Regions from separate parts of the Homo sapiens genome. Here all the other regions are linked to region 1. The links are contacts of gene promoters, found by promoter capture Hi-C in human tissues and cell types (Jung and others, 2019). All regions are on one chromosome and are shown on one strand. Each heading gives the region's core, a stretch centred on a gene start or on the middle of the fragment in contact. The rest is flanking DNA. Distances are from core to core; before and after follow the strand shown.

Region 1 (3,228 bases), core at 514-3,013:
GGTTTAGAAACACCAATAATTTAAAGTATGAATTCTGTAAATCTGCAACCACCCCCTCCCCCATTTTCAATCTCATTCATTTTCTAGCAGCATAAATCAGAAAGCAAAACCTTTGTTGCTTTAAAGATCCTGCTTTGCCTTTTTAAAATGTGTTCTTAAAGATGAAATAATTATGCTGCTTTCCTGGATCAAGATTTCAAAGGAAGAACCTCCTGCGGATACTTATGTACACTTACATACGAAAATGGATGTTTAAATGCAGGTAGATGAGTATTTGTCCTAAAATGTGATCTTCCTTGTTGATGCTGGAGCTTGAGGAGCTATCCCTATGCTCTGCTGCCACCTTGGAAACTCAGAAGGATTTACAACGGAGTTCTGCACAGGGGAAGCTGGAAGCAGCATTCCCACAGCCTCTTCTGGGGCTGGCAAGGCTCAGAGAGGCATTTGAAATGGCTATTATTGACACCCATAGACTTGGGTATGTTTCAGAGAGAAACTATAACATCTATCTCATGGGAAAACACACTTTCTCTGTTTTTAAATAACTCCGTTTCAGCAAGATCCATGTGTGTAGCCTCTGAATACTCTATAAAGGCTCCGTATTTCTTTCTTTCTTTCCTTAGTCCGGAATGGAGACAGAAGAAAGATTCGGTTGAAGATGTCCCTGTGTGGATCTCAGTTTGCGCTCTGAGCGACGTCCTGGCTCATTTGGGTGTGACGGTGAGAGCAGAGGCGCTCTGCTGACAGTTTTTTCTTGTCTAAGCTTCCATTCCGCATCCACAATATGACTCGCCTTCCACTCCAGTTAACTTCTTGGAAGTCCAGAGCACTTAGTCAAAGCTGTTTACAAAATGCAAAGCATCTGGGCGGCCAAGGCAGAGGCTCCTGTGTTCTCTATGTAACCGCCTCCAAAAAAGCTGGGAAATTTCGCGGATCAAAATGTAGGCGCTTAAAGCTGACCCTCTGCTGTCAATGTTGGGACTTAGATACATTTTTTGCATCGTCATTCTTGTGTGTGTTTCCCGTTTATTCCATTCTAAGGCTCAGGCTCGCGCTGTTTCTCTCGCGCGCGCTGTCCCCTCTCTCCATTTCCCATTCACACATCAAACTCCGTCCTCCGCACCCCTATCTTCCCGTGTCTTCTTAGTTATGTGAATGTGTGTCATTAGGCTTACTCGGACACTGGATGGGTGAGTGGGAGGCAGCTTTTCTTGCGGTTTCATTTACACTTGGCATGGGTGGGTGGGTGCCCTCCACAATTCGTCTCGCACACGGAACACAGTTAAAATCTGTAGCTAGAACGAGTGAAAAGTTCCGAATCTTTAAAGCGCAGCTAGGACAGGAAATAATACAGGGTTGGGGGATGTGGACGGGGGCGGAGAGCAGAGAAGTAAAGGAATAAAACCAACTTCGCTGGCAACTTCAATAAATCCGGTAACTGGAGGCAAAAAATAGACTCCGAGGGCTGGGTCTGGTCCGGATGAAACGCTAGGGCTCCTTCCCTTCCTTGAATCTTGGGCGCTGGAAGCCAGCCACGGGCGTCTTGCCACGCGAGTGCCCCTAGACAGCAACACACCCACTGGAAACGCACGTGAACAAAGCTCTCGCCCCCGGGAGCCGCTGCCTGCGGTTTCCTAGTCGATCCCAGCTTCTCTAGGGAGTGTCAGGCGCACACAGGGTTAAGTTAGTTCCCTCCCTGGTAGGAGGGAGAGGAGGAGGAGGGGAAAAGCAGCATACTGTCTCAGGCTGGGTACCTTGTAGTTAGTTGTACGTTCGAAACCTGTCGCCGTCACTTGCGCGTTTGGCATTATCCATTGTCACCGCGGAGGAACGAGCGCTCGAGATATCATCAGTGCCCGCAAATCTCCGCGCCAAGGCGCTGAGCTACTCCTTTCCGAGGTGCGCCTCTGGTCCTCCGTCCCTGGTGCCCAGCAGCGGCGAGGCGGCATCTCCGCTCCCGCCGCCGTGTCCACCGAGCCCTGGGATCAGGGTGGCAGTTCTCAACGATGGGCAGGAGGGACCTCGGCGGCGACCCCTAAAACAATACCATGCCCCGGGATCCCCGCTGCTGCCGCGCCAGCGTCTTCCCTTTCCACCTCCCTGACCCTGTCGGATTCGGATGAGCCCATTGCAAGGAGAAGACGCAGCCGTCAGGTAAAAGGGGCTGCGTTGCCAGGTGAAGTTTCCAGTAACCGGCCGAGCTGCTGCTACGCTGGCACCACGCTGTCTCTTCGGGGGATTTTTTTTTTTTGAAAGAGCTGGGGGTGGTCATCTTAAGTGGGGTGCTCTAGGCTTTGTCTTTCACCTGGAGAGAAAATAGGCAGCTTAGCTCTCTCTCGACTTTGGGGACATCTGTCTGCTGGTCGAATCCACCTCCTCTACGGAGCATCATGACTGAGTTCTGGGTCAAAACGCAAATTTTCTTGCCTGGTAGATGCATCGATGCTAAATTGGGGTTCTCAGTGCCCCTAACCTTGTCAGAGTTCAGTCTCCTACTTCCCTAGATTGAATCTCTTAACTTTCACCAGTAACAACCCTCTCCCCTCCACAAGCTGTTGTTAATGTCACCAGCGTTATTATCAGGCTGTTGTATCTAAAGACACCAACCTACTACCTGCCCGTAATCTGGGATCTATTAGCAGTTAAACAGATGCGGTGGATACTAATTCCTTTTCCTTCCAGTTGGTGGGGGCGGGTGGGGCTTTTTCCAAAACCAAGTCCCTTCCAGCCCTGCTTGTCCTCTTCGGGCTGGCGGGCACTGAGCTGGGGCCATCACGCCTTTCTAGAGCGCCTGCGGAGGTGGCGAAGGCTTGGAGAGCATACGAGGCGGAATCCGGATCGAGTGAGTTCCTTGAGCCGCTTGCGTGGGACGCAGGGAGAGGGCGAATAACGCCCTCAGGCGCTGAATGCAGGGGCAAGGAGCCAGCGAGGGTGGCTGGAGCAGGCCTTGCCAGCTGTTACCAAGTCTCTCCACAGGCTTGGGGGCTTGGGGCCTCCTGGAAAGATCCCTCCGCCGCGCTGACCAGTACGGGGCTCGCTCCCGCACTTTGAAGGCTGCCGCGGTCTTTCGTCATTTATAATCAAGCCCAAGATCAAGGTTGCAAGCTGAGGTCGGGGTACTGACAACGGGAATGAAGCCATAGGGGAAGAGGATAACTGGGACGGGCTGGACCCATACTTGATACCCGGGAAACTCCTAGAGCGTGTGGTGCTCCTGCCAGCGGCAGT
Region 2 (3,228 bases), core at 535-3,034, 900 kb before region 1:
CTTAAAGTAGAGCTTAGATTATTGTTTTTTGAAGCTCTTCTTTTCTAATATAAACATATAAAATACATTTCTCTCTAAAAAATGCTTTGAGTTGTATCCTGCAAATTTTACTCTTTGGAGTTGTTATTTTAAAATATTTCAGCCTACTTTGTAATTTTTTTGTGTGATTTCTTTTCTGTCCCAGAAGTTATAAAGAATAGTGCTGTTTACCTTATGAATATTTATGGATTATCCAGGTGTTCCATTATTGTTTTTAATTTAATTTTCTATTATTTCCCTTTTTTGAAATTTATTGAGACTTGATTTATGGTGGAGAATATTATCTGTGTTTGTGACTATTTTATGAGTACACAAACAACTTGTGTATTTCAGTTGCTTGGTATAGGGCTCTATAAATATATTTGATGTCAAAATCATATATATCCACATGCTTTGTGTGCCTATATTTTGTTTAGTTTCAGGTTCTTTTCATAGCTCTTATATGTCTAATGAAAAAATCTTAATATTTATTTGACTGAATATGTGTCTTTTATATTTATAGTGAATTTTTGTTGAGCTAACCTGAAAATTTTTTGTTCCATTGCCTTCTGTCTTACATTCTTTTCAAAAGTCATCAGTAATTTTTAGCTTTACTTCATGAAGATGATATATATTTTTTTCCTCTGACTTTTTTTGAGATTTTTTAAAATTTCAATTTCTATCAATTTGATTTTTATAAGCTTTGATGGTGTTTTCTTTCTGTTTGTTTTTTAATTAGCATTCATGATAATTATTTTATCTATATATTCATAGCTTTTATTGCATTTGGAAAAAATACATTTTATTTAAGTAGTTGTATCCACATCTCTTTTTCTTTCTTTTTTGAATTACAATTATGCATATTTTAGACTACTTGATACTATCCTTCAAATAACTGAGGACCTTTTCATTTTTTAAATTTTTTTTCTATTTTTCAATTTGGAAACATCTTATTTTCTTATCTTTGATTTACTTATCTTTTCTTTGACAATATTTAATAAATTGTTAAGCCCAAAGTGGTAATTTTAAAATTTTAGATATTGTAGTATTCATTCTAAAATTTTTACTTGCTGCTAATTTTTATTGTAAATTGACAAACTATAATTGTACACATTTCCTTTTAGTGATCACATCTACATCCTATGCTTTTTGTTTTTCATTATCAATAAATTGATACTCTCCAAGGAGTCTGCCTCTATTTTCCTTTTTGCCCTCTTAAGGAATCATTTTAGATAGCCTAAAGAGTTAGTGAGCTACTCAGATTAACATTTATCTGCCAAGCATTACTATTGCTATAAGGGACCTCTTTCTTCTCTCCTGAATTGATATTCTTTTTTTTTTATTCATTTCCAAAATAAATTATTGTTTGTTATTTTTGTTTTCTAATTTCTAGCCAAAATGTGTGTGTAATGCAGGAAAACCCTGTTCAAATAGATGTCATGATAAAGAGACCCCGCAGGAAGAAACACTCCAAGTCACTATTTGAATGCCACTAGAGCCCCCACATAGGAGCAAAGGATGTCATCCTGGGACATGGATCTGTAATTCATCTTTAATCTGTGGAAGTGCCTCACACCTCTCTGTGTAAAGACACTACACCAGCTAAACTGTAGTGCATTTACCATAAGTTTTGCAAACCAGAGGGATAAAGAAGAATTCTGAAAACAGGAGCAGAGAATATGATCTGCCAAGGACTAGGCAGGATTTATTGGGTCCCTTTATATTGTAAGAATACAATTACAAAATATGTGAAGTTGGTAAATTAGCTCAATGATTTGCTCAGCCGCATTGAATGAATGAGTGGTCTGCAATAAGGAAATTCCTCTGGTGTGGTTTTTAACAGACCCCATCTAGTGAGACCTCAGTAAGAAAGTTTCATACAAGGTGAATGAAGGAATGGTTCTCAATTTTCACTTCACTGGGTGAGGCATAACTTAATGAAAGCAACTGTCTGTCAGCATTTGAAAAAAACAACATTAATCTAATTATGGATTTTCCTACCTGATGATTTGGCTGCCAGAGTGAGAGCCTCTTAATCATTCTGAAGACTCAAACACAAACCCTAGAATCCTGGAAAATTTAGGCCATGAGTCAAGGAACTCACAGAAGTCCTAGATCTGCTCTATATTTGGGGAAAAAAAGGGTTTTTTTAGTAATAACACAAAATAACTGGTAATTGACTGCAACATAGATGTGTGGAACCTTTTTATGGGTATCATACCAGTCACTGCAGTGTTCAGTGTGCCAGCTCTGCTCATGGCTGGCTCTATATTGCTGGCACTGGATGGCTGTTAAGTTGCCATGTTTTGTACAGCAGTTTTACATTTTGATATACAAACAAACAGGTTTTTGCTGCAAATGGAAAAAAAAAGTTTTTTTTTGATTTATTTGTTTCGGGGGGAAAGAATAATCATGATTTGCAATACTTCACACAATAACTACATTTCACTACTATAATTGACATGTTGGATGCCATCTAGCTGTCTACATCTGTCTTCTGGCTTTCATATTCCTATTGTTTATTTGTAATTCTATCACACCTATGACCTAATAGATTTGAGGTCACTTAATCAATTATTTACAATGTGAAATGAAACAGCTTAGTGAAACTTTGTTATATTCATATGTACATATGTGTGTAAATGTATAAATGTGTTTGTGTGTGTATCTTTGTATGCAAACATTAATATCCTTAAAAAATTGGCATTCTCTGACTTTACAGAGATTTAAATAGAAATACAAATGTGATAAATTAATTTAAATAATTAAATGCAATAAGATTGAGGGGAAATTTTTAACCTACCATCAATAACCACAACTCAGTAATTAAGTCAATATTATGTCAATCACATAATAAGCATATACTGAGGTGCTACCATGTACTTGGCGTAATGGGGCATACAGAGATGATAAAGATCAAAGCCTATAGCTCTTGGGAGTCATGAAAACGCCTACCATTTTAATTAATACCTGGATATCACTATATTTCTAACATGATTACTTTATTCTTTAGAAACTAAGCTTAAAGACCAGTTTATTAAAAACAAAAGAATTTAGAGATGAAAAAAACTGAAGTTAAACCATGTTAGGTAACTTACCCAGGGTCAGTCAATTCATTGTGGAGGAGACCCACCATGTGTTGTCAATAGTCAACAAAATAAATAATTCACCAAGCATACAAAAAGGCCTGCATTTTTTGTACAGTGTCAT
Region 3 (3,228 bases), core at 361-2,860, 880 kb before region 1:
TACCCAGTAGTCATTCAGGAGCAGGTTGTTCAGTTTCCAGGTAGTTATGGAGTTTTGAGCGAGTTTCTTAATCCTGAGTTCTAATTTGATTGCACTGTGGTCTGAGAAACTGTTTGTTATGATTTCTGTTATTTTGCATTTGCTGAGGAGTGTTTTACTTTCAATGATGTGGTCTATTTTAGAATAACTGCTGTGTGGTACTGAGAAGAATGTATATTCTGTTGATTTGGTGGGGAGAGTTCTGTAGATGTCTATTAGGTCTGTATGGTCCAGAGCTGAGTTCAAGTCCTGAATATCCTTGTTAATTTTCTGTCTTGTTAATCTATCTAACTGCCTAAGCTCTTCTTGTTGCATTTATCCCTTTACCATTATGTAATGACGTTCTTTGTCTTTTTTGATCTTTGTTGGTTTAATGTCTGTTTTGTCAGAGACTAGGATTGCAATCTCTGCTTTTTTTTTTTTTTTTTTTTTTTTTTGCTTTCCACTTACTTGATGAATCTTCCTCCATCCCTTTATTTTGAGCCTATGGGTGTCTTTGCACTTGAGATGGGTCTCTTGAATATGGCATACCAATGGGTCTTGACTCTTTATCCAATTTGCCAGTCTGTGCCTTTTTATTGGGACATTTAGCCCATTTACATTTAACATTAATATTGTTATATGTGAATATCATCCTGTCACTATTATGCTAGCTGGTTATTTTGCCTATTAGTTGATGCAGTTTCTTCATCGTATTGATGGTCTTTACATTTTGGTTTGTTCTTGCAGTGGCTGGTACCAGTTTTTCCTTTCCATATTTATTGCTTCCTTCAGGAGCTCTTTTAAGGCAGGCCTAGTGGTGGAAAAAAAAATCCCTCAGCATTTGCTTGTCTGTAAAGGATTTTATTTCTCCTTTGGTTATGAAGCTTAGTTTGGCTGGATATGGAATTCTGGACTGAAAATTCTTTTCTTTAATAATGTTGAATATTTGCCCCCCTCTCTTCTGGCTTGTAGGGTTTCTGCAGAGAGATCCACTGTTAGTCTGATGGGCTTCCCTTTGTGGGTAACCCAACCTTTCTTTCTGGCTGCCCTTTACATTTTTTCCTTCATTTCAACCTTGGTGAATCGGACAATTATGTGTCTTGGGGTTACTCTTCTCAAGAGGTATCTTTGTGGTGTTCTCTGTATTTCCTAAATTTGAATATTGGCCTGTCTTTCTAGTTTTGGGAAGTTCTCCTAGATAATATCTTGAAGTGCGTTTTCCAACTTGGTTCCATTCTTCCTGTCACTTTCAGGTACACAAATCAAACATAGGTTTGGTCTTTTCATATAGTCCCATATTTCTTGGAGGCTTTGTTCATTCCTTTTCATTCTTTTTTCTCTATTCTTGTCTTCATGCTTTATTTCATTAAGTTGATCTTCAATCTCTGATATCCTTTCTTGCTTTATTTCATTAAGCTGATCTTCAGTCTCTGATATCTTTTCTTCCACTTGATCGATTCAGCTATTGATACTTGTGTATGCTTCATGAAGTTCCCACGCTGTGTTTTTCAGCTCCCTCAGGTCATTTATGTTATTCTCTGAGCTGATTATTCTAGTTAGTAATTCTTCAAACCTTTTATCAAAGTTCTTAACTTCCTTGCATTGGGTTAGAACATGCTCCTTTAGCTCAGAAGAGTTTGTTATTACCCACCTTCTGACGTCTACTTCTGTCAGTTCGTCAAATTCATTCTCCATCCAATTTTGTTCCCTTGTTGGCAAGGAGTTGTGATCCTTTAGAGTCGGAGAGGCATTCTTGTTTTTGGAATTTTCGGTCTTCTTGTGCTGGGTTTTCCTCATCTCCGTGGATTTATCTACCTTTGCTCTTTGCTTTTGGTGACGCTTGGATAGAGTTTTTGTGTGGTCATCTTTTCTGTTGATGTTGATACTATTGCTTTCAGTTTGTTAGTTTTCCTCCTAACAGTCCAGTCCCTCTTCTTCAGGTCTACTGGAGTTTGCTGGAGGTCCACTTTAGACCCTGTTTGCCTGGGTATCACCAGCAGAGGGTGCAGAACAGCAAAGATTGCTGCCTGCTTCTTCCGCTTGAAGCTTTGTCCCAGAGGTGCACCTGCCAGATGCCAGCTGGAGCTCTCCTGTATGAGGTGTCTGTCAACTCCTGCTAGGAGGTCTTTCCCAGTCAAGAGGTACGGGGATCAGCGACCCACTTGAGGAGTCAGTCTGTCCCTTAGCAGAGCTCGAGCAATGTGCTGGGAGATCTGCTCTCTTCAGAGCCAGCAGGCAGGAACATTTAAGTCTGCTGAAGCTGCATCCCCCAGCCGCCACTTACCCCAGGTGCTCTGTCCCATGGAGATAGGAGTTTTACCTATAAGCCCCTGACTGAGGTCGCTGCCTGTCTTTTGAGATGCCCTGCCCAGAGAGGAGGAATCTAGAGAGGCAGTCTGGCTACAGCAGCTTTGGGGTGCTGTGGTGGGCTCCGCCTAGTCTGAACTTCCTGGCGACTTTGTTTACACTGTGAGGGGAAAACCACCTACTCAATCCTCAGTAATGGCAGATGCCCCTTCCCACACCAAGCTTGAACTTCCCAGGTTGACTTCAGAATGCTGTGCTGGCAGCGAGAATTTCAAGCCAGTGAATCTTAGCTTGCTGGGCTCTATGGGGTTGGGATCTGCTGAGCAAGACCACTTGGCTCCCTGGCTTCAAACCCCTGTCCAGAGGAGTAAACGGTTCTGTCTTGCTGGCATTCCAGGTGCCACTGGGGAAAAAACAAACAAACAAACAAAAAACTCTTGCAGCTAGCTTGGTGTCTGCCCAAAGGGCCTCCCAGTTTTGTGCTTGAAACCCAGGGCCCTTGTGGTGTAGGCACCCAAGGGAATCTTCTGGTCTGTGGGTGGCAAAGACTGTGGGGAAAATGTAGAATCTGGGCCAGATAGCATTTTCCCTCACAGCATGGTCCCTCACGGCTTCCCTTGGCTAGGGGAAGAAATTCCCCAACCCCTTGCACTTCCCAGGTGAGGTGATGCCCCACCCTGCTTCGGCTCACCTTCTGTGGGCTGCACCCGCTGTCTAACCAGTCCCAGTGAGATTAACTGAGTACATTAGCTCAAAATGCAGAAATCACCTGCCTTCTGCGTTGGTCTCACTGGGAGCTGCAGACGAGAGCTGTTTCTATTTGGCCATCTTGCCCAGGAATCTGCAATTTTTTTTTTGGAATTACTATAGGATTTTAAGAAAAGGAGAGGATAATAGAGA
Region 4 (3,228 bases), core at 236-2,735, 730 kb before region 1:
AAATAAAGAACCAAAATACGTCTACTAGGAACATTGAAATAAATGTGAGCTATGCATACATTTACAAAAGATGAATAGGAACAAATAAGATAATTATTTACTCAATTTTTGGTGAATCAGTGAGTAAAGGTGGCCATAGTGGTGGTGAGTTAAATCAAGAAATAAATATTTGCAAAGCAAATATTGTATGGAACACCCTCTACCACTAAACAGATCAAAAACAATCACAAATGGGGCAGGCTCGCCATGTGCTTTCATGCGGCATCATTTATTTTTGTGCATTTGTATGACTATTATGATTATTGTGTACCTGATTAATTTATATTTTACAATGTGTATTCATTCATTTTTTTTTTTCATTTTTCAATCCGTTCACCTTAGTTCAAGGTCTCAGGGAGCCCGAGCCCATCCAGCAGCTCAGGGCACAAGGGGAGGACTGACCCTCATGGGACTCCATTACCTTGCAGAGTGCAATCATATACACACACTCACTCAGACTAAAGCCATTTACACACACCAGTGAACCCAACGTGCGTATCTTTGGGATGTGGGAGAAAACCAGAATACCTAGAGAAAACTCACACAGACGTCGGGAGAATTTGCAAACACCATGCAGTGTCCTCAGCTGAGAATCTATTTTTTTTCCTCACCAACATAATAACAAAACAACTTTATTGGAAGACCATCTCATGAGTTTCTGCAGGAATGGCAACAGAAAAAAATGTAATAAATAATCAAATTCAAATGCTGTAGCAGTCATTTTTGCTTACCTACACAGTTTGCTTGCCCTGCTTTCTTATTTACAGAACCTGATGTAGTTTATATACATATCTATAAGAAAGGCTGGCCCTATTCCAATCTCAGCAACGAATCAGATTCAATCTATTTTGTTTAAGCATGAGGATGGAATGTGATGCAGGCCAATAAGGTCTTAAGGTTTCTGTAGAGGGTGCTCCTGGGAGAGGTTGCTTACTCTTAAAAAGTAAGTCAATCGAAAGAATGGTGTCTTTTGTTGCACTACATTGCCATGCCTAGATATGATGCATGGAACTCTGGCAGCTATCTTGAATGCCGGATTATAGATAGACATTAAAGCAGAGAAAAGGAAAAACAAGACAAAACAAAACACTTTGGTCCTTGCTGTCATTATTTAGGTCCTGATTAAATTAAATATGGAACTTCCCATTTCTTGACCTATTTTTAAATCAGGGAACTAAATCGTGATTTTTTTCCCTGCAAAAGATATGCTAAGGAATATGAACATACCTTCTGACTGTATTTGTTGGGGATTGAAGTTTAATGTAAATCTCATGTAAATGCAGTGGTAGATGTTACCTAAATAGCCAGGGCTTAAAATGTCTACATTTCACAATTATTCATGGTAGGGAATAGTGTATAATTCTATTCAGTTTTTCTAGTGTGTGAGACTAGACTAATAACTTCTTTGCTCATGTCTTTCACAATCGGGAGCTTTTTATAAAGAGATAAGAGATAAGTTCTACTCTGTTTAAATTGCATTTTAAGAAAGTACATTTATCAGATGTTTCACCACTTGGCCTTCAGAAATAACACAAAGCTACCATCAATCATACTTATTTCATTTTGTTTGGTCAGAAGAGGAGAAGAAAAACTAAAAAGCTTCAGCTTTCTTCCCTCACTTACTTACCCAATGATCTAATTCTAACTCATTTTCCTCTCACCAATTCCCTAAAGAAATAGTGCTAAATGGAGAAAGTACAGGGAAAGTGGGAAAAGATAGAAGGGGAAAAGGTAGTGTATTATTCCATTCTCACATTGCTATAAAGAGTAATTTATAAAGAAAGAGACTGAATAATTTATAAAGAAAATAGGTTTAATTGACTCACAGTCAACAGGCTATACAGGAAACATGGTTGGAGAGGCCTCAGGAAACTTACAATGATGGTGGAGAGGCCAAAAGGAAGCAGGAAGCTTCTTCACATGGCAGAGCAGGGGAGAAAGTGAATGGGGGAAGTGCTACATGCTTTTAAACAACAGATCTCGTGAGAACTCACTGACTATCACAAGAACAGCAAGAGGAAATCTACCCTATAAGCCAATCACCTCTCATGAGGTCTTTGATAGTTAATACTGAGTGTCATCTTGATTGGACTGAAAGAAGCAAAGTATTGTTCCTGGCTGTTTCCATGAGGGTGTTGCCAAAGGAGATTAACATTTGAGTCAAAGGCCTGGGAGAGGCAGACCCACCCTCAATCTGGGTGGACACCATGTAATCAGCTGCCAGCATGGCTAGGATAAAGCAGGCAGAGAAACTTGGAAGGACTAGTCTGGCTCAGTCTTCTGGCCTCCATCTTTCTCCCATACTGGGTGCTTCCTGGCCTCCAACATCAGACTCCAAGTTCTTCAGCTTTTGGACTCTCAGACTTATACCAGTGATTTGCCAGGGGCTCTCAGGCCTTCAGTCGCAGGCTGAAGGCTGCACTATTGGCTTCCCTACTTTTGAGGTTTTGAGACTTGGACTGGCTTCTGGGCTCCTCAGCTTCCAAACAGTGTATTGTGGGACTTCACCTTGTGATCGTGTGAGTCAATCTCCTAAAAAACTACCCTTCATATATTCATCTACTCTATTAGTTCTGTCCCTTTAGAAAACCCTGACTAATACAAGGTTCCTCCACCAACACTGGGGATTACAATTCAACATGAGATTTGGATGGGGACATGCAGCCAAATCATATGAGATAGCAAGAAGCAAAACTGAAGAAAGAGAAAGAAAAGTAGACCAATGAGAGGGACCAGAGAAGGCACTAAATATCTTCAGCTGGAAATAATTGTAGGGCAAGCACGTACTGTATATAACCTGCATACCTGTGCTTGGTCAGATAGGGCGAATGTCCACGTATGCCCAAAGTACTAAGCGTATATTATCCTATGTGTTTTAAGGGAGAGTCTAGTGAAGAGGAACATAAGGCAGCTTGTAGCAGAAGGAACACATGACACTTGGAGGATAAAGAACAGGTTAAAGTTCTATTAACTTTTTCTCCTTGTGTGGTCTTGGCCAATTTATCTAACCTAACCTTCAATTAGTTATGAAGAATCTTTCATAAGAGGAATAATACTTAAGTCATGGTATTGCAGAAAAAGTAAATGAGATTGCTCACATGAAAAGCATATTGAAATGCATTATGCATATGTTCCATAAATCCTCCAGTCTCCTGTCTCCACAGCCCTGAGGTGAAAAGCTTTTGAGAC
Region 5 (3,228 bases), core at 476-2,975, 710 kb before region 1:
TTAATTTTTAGTAGAGATGGGGTTTTGCCACATTGGCCAGGCTGGTCTTGAGCCTCAGGTGATCCACCTGCCTTGGCCTCCCAAAGTGCTGGGATTACAGGCTTGAGCCACCATGCCCAGCTCTTTCTTTCTTAAACATATTTCCCCAACTTCGATTCACCTCATCTTATTCTTTTCTTATTGCCTCACTGATTCCTATAGATACTTAAGCATCTCTCCTTTAGAAGGTTAGCTGTGGTCTCTATTCTTTTCTTAGTGTTATGTCAGCGGTGTACTTTCTATGTTCTTCCTGAGGACAATTTTCTTTACCAGTGTTGCAGCACTTACACTTTTGGAAAACTGCCTTGCTCCTTCTGTTGGATGTTAACTCTCCCAAAAGCCTACCAGAATAATTTGTTGACCAAGGGAAGCCAGAGTTTTTGACATTTGCAATAAAGGAGAGTTCCACTTTAAGGAGTCTACCTTGTGTCTCAGGAATGTAGTTATAGAGTTTTGGAATCTGGGCTCAAGTAGTTTTAGGCGGGTCTTCCAAGAGAGGGAACTGATTTGGATTAGACAAAATTTGTGATCTAATAGTTTAAAAGTGATGAACACAGAGGTGCCAGGGTCTTGTCATTTGCCTTAATAAGTAAACAGGTATTTGATAAGTTACCTTTTTGCCAAAGTGGGAAACCTATTATCCTGAAATGCAGGCTATATGCCCAAAAATGTAATCTCTTGATCAAATAAATTGGGTTTCAGAAATTTCTTGAAGCAAGCAGCGAAGTTATGTATTGCCTTGCAGTTAGTATTTTATTTCCAGGAAACACATCTTCTGGAAAAATACTAGTCTTGTTGACATAAGTGCTAGTTTTCAGTGCTGACACTCCATAGAGGCAGATATCTCCGTTCTCACTTTGCCCTTTTCTAACCTCATGGTCAGCTCCTTGAGGGCAGGCACTGTATGATGATCACTGTGGCACATTTGTTTAAACTCCTTGTTCATGAGTAAATTGATAAATATTACAAACATTAACACTCTGAGAGGTAGGGTGTGAAGTGAGCAGAGCCTCCTTTGAGGAACAAATTAACCTGGGAACATTTATTGAGAACCACTGTCGATATCTGATTCATCCCTCACGTGTGTTGAATTGGGAAAAAATGGAGTTCATGTGACTATTAAAAAAGCCGAGGAAAAGGCTGAGAATAAGAGTCAATGCTTATAGAGAGGGTCGACTGAAAGAAAGTGCCTCAGACATCAGAGATCAAGAGTGACCATGACAAGTTGACAAAGCCAACCAAATCTAGGGAATGTGTAGCAACTGAAGGTGATCACCTCCCAGCAGACATAAGATCAGGCAACTATTAAAATGTATGACAGCAGCCATCATTCCATGCAAATGAGTGGACCTAGAAATCCAGGGCAAGTTGGCTTTAATAAAAATGGTCTTTTACTTTTTCTGCTCTAGGTATTGTTCATATTGTAACAAAGCTATGGCATATTCTTGGGACTTGGCCCTAGAAGGCCACGTGACTACAGCACCATATCAAACACTGGCCTAAAGAATGTCAGGTGTCCTTGCAAAGAAAATTTCTCCAGTTTGCTCTAAATCCTTCATGATTAAAGCTTTTAACTCAGTTGGCTACATTTCAAATGAGGAGGATTTTTGAGACCCTAATAAAAACCTGGGACATGTAGGCTGCAGAGGTAATTTATAATTTTAGTTTTTGATTCACAGAGAGGAGAAGAAAATGTCTCAAAAGCCAATGTTTTACAAGGAACTGCACATTTTGTAACGTCATTTCCCACAATAAATATAAGAAACAAAATCTGAGCAGTGAGTGACACTTTAGAGTTGGACATGTATGAAGAAGAACAGAATCTGCAGTTTTATTAAAAATGCATATTAAACTGGATTAATGTTACAGTCCTCTTGTTTCAGAGAGTATATTGAATGCCAGCTGGGTTCAAAGAAAAAAAAATTACATTTCCTCTCCCTACCAAGCTCTAATGTTGCATGGTTCACCAGGTGCATGAGGGACCTGATCTGTCCCTGGGGTATGGAGGACAGGCCACAAACAAAAGCTAGACAATCTGAACTGAGTTCCAGGTTGGCTCAAAATAAGCTCAACTTGCACCACAAACTGGAAGCAAATGTTTGTGAAGGTATGGTTGTGTGTGCTCACAGCTATGTATCTTTCTCACCATCCTGTTGATTATCCCAGAAAAACAAACAAACAAATGCAGTGAAGCCACAATGCCATATGGAAGTCAATTGAATTCATGCAGCAGACAAAATGAAGTCAGATTGTTGCTGCAATTAGATAGCTGTGTCAGGTAAAGAGATTTGTTTAAGCTTTTAAGTCAATTACTTGAATGTGCAGAAATAATTCTATGCTGAATAGCCCAGCCAAAGTTAAGGCATTTTTATCTTTAATTTAAACTAAAAGTTAAGAAGTCTAAGTGTGACACTTAGATTTGATATTTTGATTTGTATAATGAGGCAGGAGCTTTGTTTCATTTCCACGATGTTAAATTTAACTTTATTGAAACCGAAGGGACTAAAATTTTCTGATTCAAGTAAATAAATAACAATCATAGAACTAAGATTTTAAAGTTTAAAAACCTGTGAAACAATATCACTTGAACTTCTATAATAGCAGACTTGTCATTTTTCAACCCCTTATTTATGTAAAACATTGGTGAAATGGACCCAAGCACATAAAGTATTAGACAATTAGTAAAAATGGTTCAAGTACTGTTTCCTCTGGATAGAATGATTAAAATTGCTTCTCAGACTTATAGACTTTCTCTGATTTCTCAGTTTTGAGGTTTCAGGAATCTAATATTCTAATAATAAAAATGTTTCATCTAATAAGACTCCCATAGTGTCCACACATTTTGTATTTCGTGAAACTTCTTTCATGTTACGAATACTCCGCAACTTCAGCTAAACAAAATAACCCTGTAGGGAGAAACAATATTTTTTAAATTTCTCAATTTTTTGGAGTATTTGGGAAGGTAATCAATACTGCCTAATTACATTAGTATCAAACTTTCTAGAACAACTGATATTTTTCAGGATATTTTTATCATTCTGAGTCTTCTAGTATAAAGGATGTGTTTTCTTATTTCTTTTATCTCTTTCTCTCTCTCCTTTCTCTTTCTCTCACGCCCCCACCCACAATTAGACAACTTAGTAGCAGTAATAGTGAAGCTATGAAAAGACTTGGTACTGTTGAAAGTCA
Region 6 (3,228 bases), core at 365-2,864, 620 kb before region 1:
ATCTTTTTAAAAACTAATTTTGTTTTTCCTATTCAGATACCAATTTTGTTTTTCCAGGTGAATCGCACAGTTTATTAAGTAGATTATCATAGATAATTTGACTTGGATAAATCCTATGAAGTTTGTTCTGATTACATATCTTAACAATGTCAGTACTGAGTGACTTAGCATGAAAATCTGCCAAATAGTTTTCTTGTTATTTAATTAAGTTTTATTCTGCTTGATGTTGGCTTAACAGTTTTTAAAATCAGTCAGTTTCTTTGTTAGAGTTCTGGAAATTCTTACGGAGTTCAGAGGCATGATCTCAAATTATCAGAAACCTGTATTTGTCAGAATCCTTTCCGTGAATCTCCTTGAAGATGAAAGTGTTTAGGTTTATCATTGCTCAGGAAGGTACCAAAGTAAACAGTTAACCATCTGTGAATTACAAGACTTGAAATGGCCATGATTAAAGATCTGGTGAAAGTTCATTGCAACAATTACACAAATTGACAAGGAAATTTGGCTATTTCTGTTGCATATAACATTTTATGGTAACTACTAGAATTATGACTGATAGCATTATACCAGGACTATTCGATTTCTGTGAATTTCATACAATTTCTAAAATACATATTAATATCACATCCATACAAATATAACCCAAAGAAGGTTTACCATTACTTATTATTTGACAAGGCTTTCGATATAATTTAATATACTAAATAAGCCACATTATCTCAATATCTCTGTTTTTGTAAGGAGAGTTATCTAATTGAGGTATCCTATGCATCTATATGGAAAATTCTAAAGTTAATTCTAGGTCAAGACAAACACTTGAGTTTGAGTTGGAGAAATTCACACACAAAAAATAAAAGACTTGAAATACTTGATCAAAATAAAATCTTAGGTCACTATGAACAACAGTCATTCATTTAACCAAAGTAATAATTAAAGGGCTTTAAAGGTAAATACAGAATGTAACCTGGCTGTAGAAAAACCTTAAATCCTTTTAAAAAAAAGAATTCAGCTTTTTCACATGATCAAAACCTAATGAAGACATCATTAATCATAGAAAATTATTTAGGTAAAACAGTGAATTTTTATTTCCTAGCCAAATTACTCAGAAGTTTAAAAAAAATTCAACATTTTCTATTAAGGGAAGACCGGCTGGGCGCGGTGGCTCACGCCTGTAATCCCAGCACTTTGGGAGGCCGAGGTGGGCAGATCACCTGAGGTCAGGAGTTCGAGACCAGCCTCAACATGGAGAAACCCCGTCTCTACTAAAAATACAAAATTAGCTAGGCGTGGTGGTGCATGCCTGTAATCCCAGCTGCTCGGGAGGCTGAGGCAGGAGAATTGCTTGAACCTGGGAGGCAGAGGTTGCGTGAGCCGAGATAGCGCCATTGCACTCCAGCCTGGGCAACAAGAGTGAAACTCCGTCTCAAAAAAAAAAAAAAAAAAAAGGGAGACCAATACTCCAAAAAACCCTGTTGTTATAATAGCGAGAACAAACTTCTGGTGTTGTATCGGTACATTTTTGATACTGATAGTCATCTTTTATAAAAGTTTATAATTTACTTCTAATCTTAGCCAGTTTGATCACACATAAAATTCCTTTCATAAGGTTCATCTTCCACAAGCCTTCCACAGCTTTCTCATCCATTTAGTTTTTGTCTTATACTTTCCCTTTCTCATTTGGGAACCATGAATCATTCTATTTTAGAGCAAAAATTATGCTTTTTACCTTAAAGATAATAAAACATCCTCATATTATATCACTATTCCTCACAAAAGCACATTTTACCTTCCTTGTATATTTGCACAGTGTTCTTTTCTTATTATTTCTAGTGATTTTAGTTACATATATTAATTATAATTTTTACCCTTAGTGATCTTAATTTTCACTGAACATCAGTAAGCAACCAAGTGTCAGCTGTCTGTCACATTAGCAATCTATAGTTTGGCAAAATGTATGAATTATAATTTCTAGAAGCGTGTGGTTTCTCACAGTGCAAATTTCTTAATGCGGCACAGAGCACGTTTACTAATAGTCTCAGATATCTTTACTCTCTCTGTAATAAATGAGGAAAACTGATATCTCTATCCTGTTAACTTTTTCTTTTTCTTGGTGGTGGGGGCTAGGTCTGAGAATTAAATTGTTTGTACAGATTTTTCTTGGCCTCAACTACCCATTTTCAGTGATAAAAATGTAAAATGCTTCTGGTATAGGAAGGACATCTCTTACACGGAAAGTTTATCTTACATTTATATAACTTACTTATTTTTAATAATTATGCTTGGATTTCTGATATTGATAAAACACAAAACAGCCAGCCATTATGTTTTTATAATTATTCTTATTTTACCAATGAATTTTTTAAGTATAGAGATAACATAAGCTTATTTTACCAGTAAACTTAGGTAGGAAAAATTGTGAGTATGTATTATATTTAATGTTGAAAACGCTGAAGACATGCCTATTTTAATCAAACAAACTTTTTTTTTTATTATCAAAGATTACCCAAGTCACATGAACTCGAAATGCATTTGGGTTAGATCCTATTTTTTGATAGAATATTTCATTTATATAAGCCTTATTTTTCTTAAAGACAACTAAACAGAGCTCCTTTGTAATTTAATCTGACAGTATAGTAAGATAGACAAATATCACATATACATGTATGTATATATACATATCATACAGATATAGATAAACATATAGAAAGAGATTGTATAGCTTTCATTTTAAAATTTTGTCCATGCACCAAGTACAATAACACAAACTCACTATTTTATTTAAAACTATCTGGATCAAAATTATTTTTCTGGCCAATGGAACAAGATTTCTTACCCAGATGGCTAAAAGTTTTAACTAATATTTGTGAAAAAAATACTTTAAAGATTTTTAAACTTGCCTTCTGTAAGGAATCTTTTAAAGAGGCAAGCTTTGATTCATTTCATCTCTTAGATGCCTCTGCAAACCAGTCAAAATTGCATCCCATTGTTTTTGCAGGGTCTTTGATCCCTTCTTTTCTAATTTGCCCGATGAGTAAACAATTTTATCTAAATTAAAACTTCCTCATTGTGGCTGTTTTAATTCTAAGTCTTCTCTAGTAAAGTTAACTCATTTTTCTAAAAATATACAAGTTGTGGGCCCATAATTGTTATATGTAAAATTAGCTAGAATCCCATAAGGCAGAGTCCCCAGACTCCTTGGATTGAGACAAACTTATTTTCAAAAAGGTA
Region 7 (3,228 bases), core at 396-2,895, 570 kb before region 1:
GACAAATCTGACTCCTTAATATTCCAGAAAAAAGAAGACACCTAACAATGGTAGATTTAGGGATAACTCAGCTAGATGTATGTGAAAGGATAAGTGGAGCTTTTCTGTTTAAATTTTAAAATGGGATATAAAAGTAGAGGTGCTCCATGACTTACAACAGAATGACATCTTGATAAACCCCATTGTAAGTTGAAAATATTGTAAGTTGAAAATGCATTTGATAGACCTCACTTACCAAACATCATAGCTTAGCTAATAAACCTCACCTACCAGTCATCATACCTTAGCTTTGCTGACTTTAAACATGGTCAGAACACTTACATTAACCCGTAGTTGGGCAAAATTATCTAACACAAATTCTATTTTATAAAAAAAGTGTTTAATATTTTATGTAATGTATTGAATACAGAAAGTACAAAAAAAAGAAGGTTGTATGGGTATTGGAAATATAGTTTCTACTGAATGTGTATTTCTTTCACACAATTTTAGTGTCAATTTGTAACTGCGGCCTGGGCAATGGAGTGAAAACTTGTCTTTAAAAAAAATTGTAAGTTGAACTATCACAATTTGGGGACCCGCTGTAATTGGCCCAATGCTATAAAACTCAAAAAGACCAGAATAACACCATGGGTTATCAAATATTTGCTTTTACAGAGTTTTACCATTTTCAATGAGCTAATGTGTATTTTATCTCAGTTGACGTTCAAGTAACACAGTGAGATAAGCTGGACAAACATATATATCCTGTAATATGGGACAAGGAAAGTGCAGGTCAAGAACTTCGGAAATGACAGATTTGTGTTACGTTGTAGCAACAAGGAAAGTATGAGTGGTGCTCTACTATTCATGACCGGAATAACAGGTGCTGGAACATACATTAACCCTTGGAAATACTTGAGGGTATTTTAAACACAGGAGATTTTTGATATTCAGATGTTGAAGGCCACAAAAATAAAATAAAATAAATGACATGCTGGATCAAAAATTCAAGGTGTTCTTTCCGAGGAATTCCTTAATCAGGAATAAAAAAAAATACAAAACTTTGTCCTGCTTAATATGTATGTTGGATCTCACCATTTCTCAACTCAAACCTATTTTGGTTTCTCAACTCAGAGAGAAAGTAAATATTCTACAGATTGGGTACCTCTTGCCTTTCTGAACCCATCTTCTGGTTCTATTCTTTATTTTTATGAGTACCAAGCAGTTGCAAATATAAAACATTCATAACAACTCAATAAGGTAGGCACAATTATTGCTCCCATTTTATAGATGAAGTATTTGAGACACAGAGCAATTATGAAGCTTGGCAGAGGTCACACAGCAAGTGAGTGGTTGTCACCAAGCAGTATGTCTGCAAAATTCACTCTCTTATGGACCCAGAAATACTGTCTCTGCTGCATTCAGCTCACTTCAGCTACCCTAGTATTCTTGCTCTTATTCAGACATATTGGGCTCCTCTCATCTCAGCTCTCATTTATTATGCCTGGAAAGTCCTTCCTTTTACATATCTTACTGGATTTTCCCCTCTCTTCCTTCATGCCTTGTCTCTATGATACATTCCTTTATTATTTTATTTGAAATTGAAATCTCCTCCTCCTCTTCCTTCTAATTGTAGTCCCTAACCCTTTGAGATGCTTTATTTTTATCCATAGCACTTACCACATCGGACATTATAATTACTTTTAAATTAATTTGTTGTTTACTTGTCTCCCATCAAATAGAATGTAGTTTTCTGTGACAGGTAGCAGTTGTGGTTGTATCACTAGTCCTATAACAATGGATGGTACATGGTAGACACTGAGATGTTTGCTGAATGACTTAACGAACTTACTGAAAATTCTTCAATAAGAGTCTCTCTCATAGAATTCCGATTCACTATGTCAGAGTCCACATATATCTGAGTTAAAAAATAAAACTGAACAAAAAGTAATCAGCTCAAGTGATTCTGATGCAAGTGGTCCATGGAATGTTGTAAAATGTGGCATTAAGGTAATAAACTTTTTGAAAAACGAAAGTATATCAAATACACTTAGTTTTCCACACCCTTAAGCTTGCATTGTCTTATATTGTATTTTTAAACCAGAATCTGATATGAGGAATTTATTGCTATGTACTAATAAAGTTATAGCTCTTGATTTGACACTTTCTGGAGAAAGTACATTCCAAGTTTCTACTTGAATGAGTAAAATCTATGTAGTTACTTCTCAAAATTATTGAAAGTCAATGTAGACATGCAAAAATTTCTTAGGACTAACTAGTTACATTGACTATCAAATGACAAAATCACAACAAATCTAATTTAAAGATCTAGTTGGCTTTTATTTGTGATTCTAGAATCGGGCAACAGTTCTTTCTACAAAGTAGAATGAGTATTACAATAAGTCGAGCAGAAAAGTTTAGCTTTATAGCCAGAAAATGGCTAAAGAAATCAGAAACAAGGAACAAGAAAATTGTTCACGTCAAAGGTACTTTCCTTATAGGCTTAAAACAGAGGAAAGTGCCTGATTGTGCTGACTCAGGTTCACTAGAATCTCCTGGTTTTTAGAAAACAAGCTTATTTGAAAATTCAGTTTGATTACATGACACTTTGCAAAAGTGACTCCATTTTGGTTTGATCTGGAGTCAACCTTAGGTGCTAAGGCCTAGAGCAGGAGCCTCATCGAAAATAATGACATCTTATAAACTTTGTCTAACAAGATTAAAAGCTAATTCCACTAGTGATTATATTATAAGAACATTTTGTATTAAAACTTAAATGCATCTAATAAATTTACAGTCTAGATTTCAAATCCATATTGTGTGAAATTGTTTGCAATTATATGAACTTACATTCAGATTTTCTCAAAACATGTAAGAGGAACATGTTTGAATGTATAATCAAAAGAATACTATACCAGAATTAAAAAAAATATCAGGAGGAAATGAAAAAGAAATTTAAGTGAGTGGACTAGAGAATGAGCAGACTAAGGAAGACGAATACCAAGAACTAAAAAGTCTACTAGTGGAGTTTTTCTTAACATTATTTAAACTCAATCACAGTTTAATTCAGTAATATTAGGATATCCAAGTATCATAAGAAATACGATCTGACCCATCTCATCAATTTAAAGAGAATACAGTTGCTAAATTGTTGCTCTGGATCTGAGAAGCTAGGTGAACAGGAAAAGATTTACCATTAATCTCAATAAATGATCATTTTTCTTTGCATTTGCCCAATCGCAAACAGGA

Evidence for each region. The method cuts DNA at HindIII sites, captures the fragments that hold promoters and counts their contacts. A contact is called where the count stands out against the background at its distance.
Region 2: a contact is called between a fragment that was not itself captured here and the fragment with the promoter of FLRT2 in region 1, in 2 of the 25 tissues and cell types used here (dorsolateral prefrontal cortex and mesenchymal stem cells).
Region 3: a fragment that was not itself captured here is called in contact with the fragment with the promoter of FLRT2 in region 1 in 1 of the 25 tissues and cell types used here (mesenchymal stem cells).
Region 4: a contact is called between a fragment that was not itself captured here and the fragment with the promoter of FLRT2 in region 1, in 2 of the 25 tissues and cell types used here (dorsolateral prefrontal cortex and mesenchymal stem cells).
Region 5: a fragment that was not itself captured here is called in contact with the fragment with the promoter of FLRT2 in region 1 in 1 of the 25 tissues and cell types used here (dorsolateral prefrontal cortex).
Region 6: a fragment that was not itself captured here is called in contact with the fragment with the promoter of FLRT2 in region 1 in 2 of the 25 tissues and cell types used here (aorta and mesendoderm cells).
Region 7: a contact is called between a fragment that was not itself captured here and the fragment with the promoter of FLRT2 in region 1, in 1 of the 25 tissues and cell types used here (dorsolateral prefrontal cortex).

Annotation. Positions count from the first base shown.
Region 1 is chr14:85,528,381-85,531,608 of GRCh38, forward strand. FLRT2 (fibronectin leucine rich transmembrane protein 2) reads left to right here and starts at 1,764. Exons shown (of 2, transcript NM_013231.6): 1 at 1,764-2,154. FLRT2-AS1 (FLRT2 antisense RNA 1) reads right to left here. Exons shown (of 2, transcript NR_184170.1): 1 at 237-3,228. The HindIII fragment of the contact is 3,489 bases long and covers 210-3,228 here.
Region 2 is chr14:84,625,752-84,628,979 of GRCh38, forward strand. No RefSeq gene overlaps it. Among named protein-coding and RNA genes, the nearest start is that of SNORD3P3, 640 kb to the right of the region's middle. The HindIII fragment of the contact is 5,079 bases long and covers 1-3,228 here.
Region 3 is chr14:84,652,878-84,656,105 of GRCh38, forward strand. No RefSeq gene overlaps it. Among named protein-coding and RNA genes, the nearest start is that of SNORD3P3, 620 kb to the right of the region's middle. The HindIII fragment of the contact is 3,197 bases long and covers 13-3,209 here.
Region 4 is chr14:84,803,170-84,806,397 of GRCh38, forward strand. No RefSeq gene overlaps it. Among named protein-coding and RNA genes, the nearest start is that of SNORD3P3, 470 kb to the right of the region's middle. The HindIII fragment of the contact is 3,651 bases long and covers 1-3,228 here.
Region 5 is chr14:84,820,541-84,823,768 of GRCh38, forward strand. No RefSeq gene overlaps it. Among named protein-coding and RNA genes, the nearest start is that of SNORD3P3, 450 kb to the right of the region's middle. The HindIII fragment of the contact is 3,596 bases long and covers 1-3,228 here.
Region 6 is chr14:84,912,770-84,915,997 of GRCh38, forward strand. No RefSeq gene overlaps it. Among named protein-coding and RNA genes, the nearest start is that of SNORD3P3, 360 kb to the right of the region's middle. The HindIII fragment of the contact is 3,316 bases long and covers 1-3,228 here.
Region 7 is chr14:84,962,965-84,966,192 of GRCh38, forward strand. No RefSeq gene overlaps it. Among named protein-coding and RNA genes, the nearest start is that of SNORD3P3, 310 kb to the right of the region's middle. The HindIII fragment of the contact is 3,770 bases long and covers 1-3,228 here.